Linked DNA regions of Homo sapiens: region 2 is linked to region 1. Evidence: promoter capture Hi-C in human tissues and cell types (Jung and others, 2019). All regions are on one chromosome and are shown on one strand. The core of a region is centred on a gene start or on the middle of the fragment in contact, and the rest is flanking DNA. Distances in the headings are between cores, read along the strand shown.

Evidence for each region. Contacts are between HindIII fragments. The study calls those that stand out against the background at their distance.
Region 2: a fragment that was not itself captured here is called in contact with the fragment with the promoter of VMO1 in region 1 in 1 of the 25 tissues and cell types used here (heart right ventricle).

The regions. Positions count from the first base shown.
Region 1 is chr17:4,784,238-4,788,633 of GRCh38, reverse strand. VMO1 (vitelline membrane outer layer 1 homolog) reads left to right here and starts at 2,270. Exons shown (of 3, transcript NM_182566.3): 1 at 2,270-2,476; 2 at 2,582-2,697; 3 at 2,975-3,349. The coding sequence starts at 2,282. The coding sequence ends at 3,272. The HindIII fragment of the contact is 14,296 bases long and covers 1-4,396 here.
Region 2 is chr17:5,040,815-5,045,210 of GRCh38, reverse strand. All of the region lies in intron 3 of LOC105371501 (a long non-coding RNA gene), which reads right to left. It also overlaps a transcript of SLC52A1 not described here. Among named protein-coding and RNA genes, the nearest start is that of SLC52A1, 7.6 kb to the right of the region's middle. RefSeq lists a silencer at 1,413-1,561. The HindIII fragment of the contact is 3,862 bases long and covers 1-3,738 here.

The DNA.
Region 1 (4,396 bases), core at 1,021-3,520:
TAGGTACTTTGCAAGCCTCATGTGAGGATTAAATGATAACGTATGTGAAAACACTAAATGGAAAAGCTGACCACAATTGCCCTATAAATCTTATTAAGTTCAAGCATTGTCCGGCTCTGGGATCCAGGGAACACCCACTTCTCTCTCGCTCTCTTTTTTTTTTTGTTTGTTTTTTGTTTTTTTGTTTTTTGAGACAAAGTCTCGCTCTGTCGCCCAGGCTGGAAAGTGCCGGCTAATTTTTACATTTTTAGTAGAGACAGGGTTTCACCATACTGGACAGGCTGGTCTCGAACTCCTGACCTTGTGATCCGCCCAACTTGGCCTCCCAAAGTGCTGGGATTACAGGCGTAAACCACCGCGCCCAGCCGGGAACACCCACTTCTAAATTCTCTATCTTATTCCCAGGGGACTTTGTCTTGACCTGGATACATGACCTCTTGCAATCATATACGTACGTCAGGCTTTATCCTTTTGCATTTTTGTGGTTTAATTTTCAAAACTCCAGATTGGCTCTTCAATCATTCATTGCACCAACTTTTATTAAGTACTTCCGCACGTACTAGGCTTCAAGAATACAAAAGTGCCTTCACAGAGCTCAAGGTCCACTGGGGGAGAATTTATCCTCTGTCTCCCCCACTGGAATGTGACCTCTGATGACAGGGGCCTTGTTATTCTTGCTTACAGCAAGTGGAATATTGCTTAAGCCAAAACATATTATTGCTAAATAGGTATTGAATAAACAAAGGAGTGTGTATGAGGGGCAGGTAAATCTGGGGTTGTGGCCCCTAACAAATTTAGCCAGGCATTTTTAGGCCAGGCACGGTGGCTCACGCCTGTAATCCCAGCACTTTGGGAGGCCGAGGTGGGCGGATCACCTGAGGTCAGCCTGGCTAACATGGCAACACCCCGTCTCTACTAAAAATATACAAATTAGCCGGGCGTGGTGGCGAACGCCTATAATCCCAGCTACTCGGGAGGTTAAGGGAAGAGAATCGCTTGAACCCGGGAGGCAGAGGTTGCAGTGAGCCGAGATGGCGTCACTGCACTCCAACCTGGGCAACAGAGTGAGACTTCGTCTCAAAACAAACAAACAAACAAACAAACAAAAAACATACTTAGCCAGATTTTCTCGCTTTTTGTTTTGCAAATTAGGAGTCCATCTGGTGGTCACAGGGGGAAAGGCATTCCAGGAAAGGATATAAGGATACAGAAAGCAATGGAAGAAACAGCATGATCTTTTCTTAGGGGTTCTTAGTCTCCTGTCCCCAAACTTCTTAGAGTTATTCCTGTTGGACCGGGCGCGGTGGCTCATGCCTGTAATCCCAGCACTTTGGGAGGCCGAGGCAGGCGGATCACAAGGTCAAGAGATAGAGACCATCCTGGCCAACACGGTGAAACCCGGTCTCTACTAAAAATACAAAAATTAGCGGGGCGGCGTCTTGGCGCGCGCCTGTAGTCCCAGCTACTCGGGAGGCTGAGGCAGGAGAATCGCTTGAACCCAGGAGGTGGAGGTAGCAGTGAGCCGAGATCGCGCCACTGCGATGCCGCCACTGGGCGACAGAGTGAGACTTCGACTCAAAAAATAAAAATAAAAAAGAATTATTTCTGTTTGTATATGTCTTCTTCTAAGGTAGGGAGGAGTGTCCCGGATTCTCAAGGTGTTAGGGCCCTGAGCTCTCAGAAGACCTCTCAGAGGAGGAAGAGACTTCTGAGCTGACAGGAGTTTTCTCAGCTTCTCCAGTTCGAGGATTCTTGTCCTATCCTCACTCTGATGTCCCCTCACATCCTGGAGGTCTCTGGGTTGCTCTTGCCCCATCCCGTCACTGGTGGGACTCCCGGGAGGTCACTTCCATCCCTAGCCCTGGTCTCTGCTCTGTCTCCACTCTCACTGCTGGAATGTTTCCCAGCTTGCTTGGCTGTAAACCTAAGGCAAGTTGCTTGCCATTTTTGAGCCAGTTCCCTCATCTACAAAATAGGAAGGATAATTCTCACCCCCCAAAAATTGTTGTGAGGGTTAAACAAAATACTGCAAAGCGCTAACCATAATTCGTAGCCTATAGTAAATATTCAGTAGGTGATGGTTATTTTAATTCGCCCTCTCTCACTGCCCCTCCTACCCTAGCTCTGGGAGCCTCTGCCTCCGGGAGCAGGAAATAGGGTTCCGGGAGTGGATTAGTTTTGGGTTTCACTTAATCTGGGAGGCCCTTCCGCAATCGGAGCCCTCACAGAGGCCAAACTGATATAAATCTGCTTAGGAGGCCTGATTCACAGACGCTACAGGATGGAGCGGGGCGCAGGAGCCAAGCTGCTGCCGCTGCTGCTGCTTCTGCGGGCGACTGGTTTCACATGTGCACAGACAGATGGCCGGAACGGCTACACGGCGGTCATCGAAGTGACCAGCGGGGGTCCCTGGGGCGACTGGGCCTGGCCTGAGATGTGTCCCGATGGATTCTTCGCCAGCGGGTTCTCGCTCAAGGTTGGGGCTCAGGCGTAGGTCCTGGAGAGGGCGGAGATGCGTGGGACCATAGAGCCAAGGATGATAATTCCGTGACTCGCCCTTGCCCCTCTCCTCGATACCCAGGTGGAGCCTCCCCAAGGCATTCCTGGCGACGACACTGCACTGAATGGGATCAGGCTGCACTGCGCGCGCGGGAACGTCCTAGGCAATACGCACGTGGTAGAGTCCCAGTCTGGAAGGTGGGGCGCAGGGGTCGAGGATCCCTTGGGGTGATGGTATGTCCCTTACCCTCTATTACATACTCCGTCGCAACAGGCAGGCTGGCTCCGCCAGAGCTACGGGGCAGTATAGACCGGGGAGGCGAAGGGTGGATGGAAGACCCCTCCTCCGCTCCTCGGCGGAGGTCGGGGAGCACCCAGCCCACCAGGTCATATACACAGCACTTGGCTTGGAAAGTCTCAAGGGCTTGGTGAATGGGGGGCCCGCAGAGGCAACGCATCTCCCTTTGCCTTGCAGCTGGGGCGAATGGAGTGAGCCGCTGTGGTGTCGCGGCGGCGCCTACCTAGTGGCTTTCTCGCTTCGCGTGGAGGCACCCACGACCCTCGGTGACAACACAGCAGCGAACAACGTGCGCTTCCGCTGTTCAGACGGCGAGGAACTGCAGGGGCCTGGGCTGAGCTGGGGAGACTTTGGAGACTGGAGTGACCATTGCCCCAAGGGCGCGTGCGGCCTGCAGACCAAGATCCAGGGACCTAGAGGCCTCGGCGATGACACTGCGCTGAACGACGCGCGCTTATTCTGCTGCCGCAGTTGAACGGCGCCGCCGCCGCCGCTCTCTCCCGGGCCAGGAGGCTAGTCCCACCTCTTGCTATTAAAGCTTCTCTGAGTTGACTTTGGTCTCGCCTGTTTATTTCATTTATTTATTTATTAATTTATTTATTTGAGACGGAGTATCGCTCTGTCCCCCAGGCTGGAGTGCAGTGGCTCACTCGGCTCACTGCAAGCTCTGCCTCCCGGGTTCACGCCGTTCTCCTGCCTCAGCCTCCCGAGTAGCTGGGACTACAGGCGCCCGCCACTACGCCCGGCTAATTTTTTTTTTTTTTTTTTGTATTTTTAGTAGAGACGGGGTTTCACCGTGTTAGCCAGGATGGTCTCGATCTCCTGACCTCATGATCCGCCCACCTTGGCCTCCCAAAGTGCTGGGATTACAGGCGTGAGACACCATGCCCGGCTGGTCTCGCCTGTTTAAGGGATGGGGAACTGAGTCTCCTTTTCCCCTCCTAACTTAGCATTAGGTGAGGCATACATTTGGATTTGGTCTCAGGGGTCTATGGTAGATTGCTGAAAAGTTATGGACTCGAGAAAAACGCACTTAAACAGATAATTTTCAGACAAGTGATGGAAGTCTGGCTTTTTTTTTTTTTTTTTTTTTTGGAGTCTCACTCTGTCACTCAGGCTGGAGTGCAGTGGTATGATCTTGGCTCACTGCAACTTCCACCTCCTGGGTTCAAACGATTCTTCTGCCTCAGCCTCCTGAGTAGTTGGGACTACTGGTACCCACCACCATGCCCAGCTAATTTTTGTATTTTTAGTAGAGATGGAGTTTCCCCATGTTGGCCAAGCTGGTCTCAAACTCCTGACCTCAAGTGATCCACTGGCTTCAGCCTTCCAAAGTTTTGGGATTACCGGCTTGCACCATCGTGCGGGCCCAGGAAGTCTGGCTTTCTGAGAGAGTCTGCAGACACCCTGCCCCCATTAGGTGCCTAGGTTGTCTCCTTTCTGAACCAGTGACCTAAGATTAAGAAAATTCTACCAAATTATGGCCAGATGTGGTGGCTCACAGCTGTAATCTCAGCACTCTGGGAGGCTGAGGTGGGTGGATTGTTTAAGCTCAGCAGTTGGAGACCAGCCTGGGCAACATGGTGAAATCCCCTCTCT
Region 2 (4,396 bases), core at 558-3,057, 260 kb before region 1:
GAAGATGAAGAGGTTTCACTCAGGAGGTAGAAGCTGAGCTGGATCTTAAGGAAGGGCAGTTTATTGGCCAGGAGATGCTTGGGGAAGGACATAAGTCACCTTACGCTCAGAAAAAGATGTGACATCTTGGGGAGGCCCATTTGACCCAAGGGTTCTCATCACGGACTAAAGTGAATTGAAGGTGAGAGGTCAGGTGGAACAGAGCATGAACCAAGACCCAGGTCTCCTGGTGCCCAGTCTCAGGCTCCTTTCACTACTCCTCACTGCCTCGTCACCCAGAACATTCCCCCGTTTAGGCTGTGGGCTCCTGATCTTAGTCACAACTGCCCCGAGGCTCAAGGACTTCAGCTCTGAGGTGAAAGGTTGGGTTGCTTTCGAATTCCTTCCCAGGCTCCTGTGTCCAACTGGAGGTAGACTTCCAGCTCTGGCCACCTGCCAAGAAGCTGAAGGTGACTTCAGGCAAGCCACAGCCTCAGTTTCCTCATTTGTACTGCTCTTCTGGCATCTATCACGCCCACCCTGATGGAGTCATGTTAGGAGATCATGCTGCCTTCTCTCTCCTACTAGGCTGCAGTCCCTATTAGAGGAGAATCTGGGTCTCACTAAAAGGGTGAATAAGGTTCAATCCCTAAAGGCAAGGAGTCCAGGGTCAAGGCACGACATGACAAGCACAAAGTCTATAATTTCATGATCACATGGTAAGTGTGGTGATAAGGTAAGCTTAAAAAGAAAGGGGGGCTGGGCGCAGTGGCTCACACCTGTAATCCCAGCAGTTTGGGAGGCCAAGGCAGGAGTGTTGCTTCATCTCAGGAGTTTAAGACCAGCCTGGACCACATAGTGAGACCCTGTCTCTACCAAAAAATAAAAATTCTAAAAAAATCGCCAGGTGTAGTGGCATGTACCTGTAGCCCCAGCTACTGAAGAGGCTGAGGTGGGAGGATTGCTTGAGCCCTGGGGATCAAGGCTGCAGTGAGCTGTGATCACACCACTGCACTACAGCCTGGGCAACAGAGCAAGATCCTGCAGAAAGAAAGGAAAGGTGGCCAGGCACGGTGGCTCACGCCTATAATCCCAGCACTTTGGGAGGCCGTAGGCGGGTGGATCACCTGAGGTCGGGAGTTCAAGACCAGCCTGACCAATATGGAGAAACCTTGTCTCTACTAAAAATTCAAAATTAGCCAGGTGTGGTGGCGCACACCTGTAATCCCAGCTACTCGGGAGGCTGAGGCAGGAGAATCGCTTGAACTTGGGAGGCGGAGGTTGTGGTGAGCCAAGATGGCGCCATTGCACTCCAGCCTGGGCAACAAGAGCAAGACTCCATCACAAAAAAAGTAATAATAATAATAAAGAAAAATAAAGAAAGAAAGGGAAGGAAAGAAGGGAGGGAGGGAGGGAGATACTTAACCCAGTCTGAGAGAGTCAAGGCCTCCTGAGGCTACAGCAGCTAAGCTGAGACTCACTGTTGAGTGGAAGCCAGCCAGTAGAGGGGGGCTGTGAGGTGTGGAGGATCTTCCAGGAAGAGGAAAGGCACAAAGGTAGGACACAGTGTGGGGTCTGCAGAGAACCATAAGCAATTTGTTGGGAGGCCGAGAGTGCTAGAAAGGAGGTAGGAGAGGAAGGACAGGGCCAGGCCTTGTAAGATTTTACTTATGTATATTATATGCCTTTGTGTCATCCAAATACATAACAAAATGCATTCTATACAGTGGGCCTTCCATAAATACTTTCAAAAATGAATACGATGATTGGCTGGGCGTGGTGGCTCACACCTGTAATGCTAACACTTTGGGAGGCTGAGGCGGGTGAATCACCTGAGGTCAGGAGTTTGAGACCAGCCTGGCCAACATGGTGAAACCCCATCTCTACTAAAAATACAAAAATTAGCTAGGCGAGATGGTGGGTGCTTGTAATCCCAGCTACTTGGGAGGCTGAGACAGGAGAATCACCTGAACCCAGGAGGCAGAGGTTGCAGTGAGCCAAGATTGCACCACTGCACTCCAGCCTGGACGACAGAGCGAGACTCCGTCTCAAGAAAAAAAAAAAAAAAAGAGTACAATGAGATGATGGATTAAATGTTCTCGAAAGTTCTTTCCAGCCCTTGAAAGCCAGTGTTGCCACTCAAGGCCCCGCTGAGATTTGAGTTCCAAATATTCCCCAGTCTTTAATGGAAGAGTATCAAACCTCATCTATGGGCTTATCTCACAAAATGTTTGCTCTGTAGAGGTATCTGTTCGGGCAGGAGACAAGGCAATGTTAAATTCACCCTAAAGGTTTAAGTTGTACCAGTTGGCTGGGTTTTCTCTGCCCCCCAGGTGAGTTGTCAAAACCAAGCCAGGCCCAGAGACAGTCACGCTGGAGGGGTAAGAACTATGGCCTTTTGCCAGGCGCGGTGACTCACACCTATAATCCCAGCACTTTGGGAGGCCGAGGGGGGCAGATCACCTGAGGTTGGGAGTTCAAGACCAGCCTGGTCAACATGGAGAAAGCCTGTCTCTACTAAAAAAAAAAAAAAATACAAAATTAGCCAGGCGCGGTGGCTACTACTTAGGAGGCTGAGGTAGGAGAATCACTTGAACCCAGGATGCGGAGGTTGTGGTGAGCTGAGATCGCGCCATTGCACTCCAGCCTGGGAAACAAAAGTGAAACTCCGTCTCAACAAAGAAAAAAAAAGAGGACTATGGCCTTTTAACCCACAGGGAAGGGTTCAAGATCCAGGAGAAGCCAGATTGAAGCCAGAAGGAATAAGATAAGGATTCAGACTGATTGGGCTTACCTCCTCCCCTGAGCTCTGAGGCCAGGTGTTCCTGAGATAGAGGAGAGGGTGGAGAGCTGCTGCCGGAGCAGAAGGCAGAGGAAGACAGTACATTCATCTGTGGTGAGCTTTCTCTACACAGACACGGGAAGTGGGACAGGGGTTCAAGAGGAAGTCAGTAGGAAGAGTTTATCCCCTGCACAACAGTTCATGAATGAAGGGCCTTCAAGTGCTTACTGTAAGGCCAGCCCCGTGCCCCAGAAGGCTGCAGGGATTGTGTGCGCCCTCTCCCTATCCATCCCCAACACGAGAATGCTAAATGCTGCAGTGAGGTCTTCAGAATAGAAGCCCTAACCATTGTCTAGGATTCCAGGTACTTTCTGGGTAAAGAAATTAGGGGCAGTGAAAAATTGGAAGTTGGACGGCTGGGCATGGTGACTCACGCCTGTAATACCAGCACTTTGAGAGGCTGAGGCAGGAGGATTGCTTGAGCCTAGAAGTTTGAGACCAGTCTGGGAAACACAGTGAGACCATATCCTTAAAAATAGGCCGGGTGCGGTGGCTCACGCCTGTAATCCCAGCACTTTGGGAGGCCGAGGCAGGTGGATCACTTGAGGTCAGGAGTTCAAGACCAGCCTGACCAACATAATGAAACCCATCTCTATTAAAAACAAAAAAATTTTGGGGTGTGGTGGCTCACACCTGTAATCCCAGCACTTTGGGAGGCCGAGGCAGGTGGATCACCTGAGGTCAGGAGTTCGAGACCAGCCTGGCCAACATGATAAAATCTTGTCTTTACTAAAAATACAAAAAATTAGCTGGGCAGGGTGGTGGGTGCCTGTAATCCCAGCTACTCGGGAGGCTGAGGCAGGAGAATCACTTGAACCCAGGAAGCGGAGGTTGCAGTGAGCCAAGATCGCACCATTGCACCCCAGCCTGGGCAATAAGAGTGAAACTCCATCTCAGAAAAACAAAACAAAATAAAACAAAACAAAGAAACAAAAAAAAATTCGCTGGGCATGGTGGTGTGCACCTGTAGTCCCAGCTACTTGGGAGGCTGAGATGGGAGAATCACTTGAACCCAGGAGGCAGAGGTTGCAGTGAGCCAAGATTGCACCACTGCACTCGAACCTGGGCAACAGGGCAAGTCTCCATCTCAAAATAAATAAATAAATAAATAAGTAAAAATAAAAGTAAAAAATTAGCCAGCCGTGGTGGCTGGCACACACCTATGGTCCCGGCTGCTTGGGAGGTCAAAGCTGGAGGACCACTTGGAGCCCAGGAGTTCAAGGCTACAGCAAGCTATGATCTTGCCACTGGACTCCAGCCTGGGCGACAGAGACCCTGTCTCAAAAATAACAACAGGCCGGGCACGGTGGCTCACGCCTGTAATCCCAGCACTTTGGGAGGCCGAGGCGGGTGGATCACGAGGTCAGGAGATCGAGACCATCCTGGCTAACACGGTGAAACCCCATCTCTACTAAAAATACAAAAAATTAGCTGGGCGTGGTGGCAGGCACCTGTAGTCCCACCTACTCGGGAGGTTGAGGCAGAAGAATGGCGTGAACCCAGGAGGCAGAGCTTGCAGTGAGCCAAGATCGCACCACTGCACTCCAGCCTGGGTTACAGAGTGAGACTCCATCT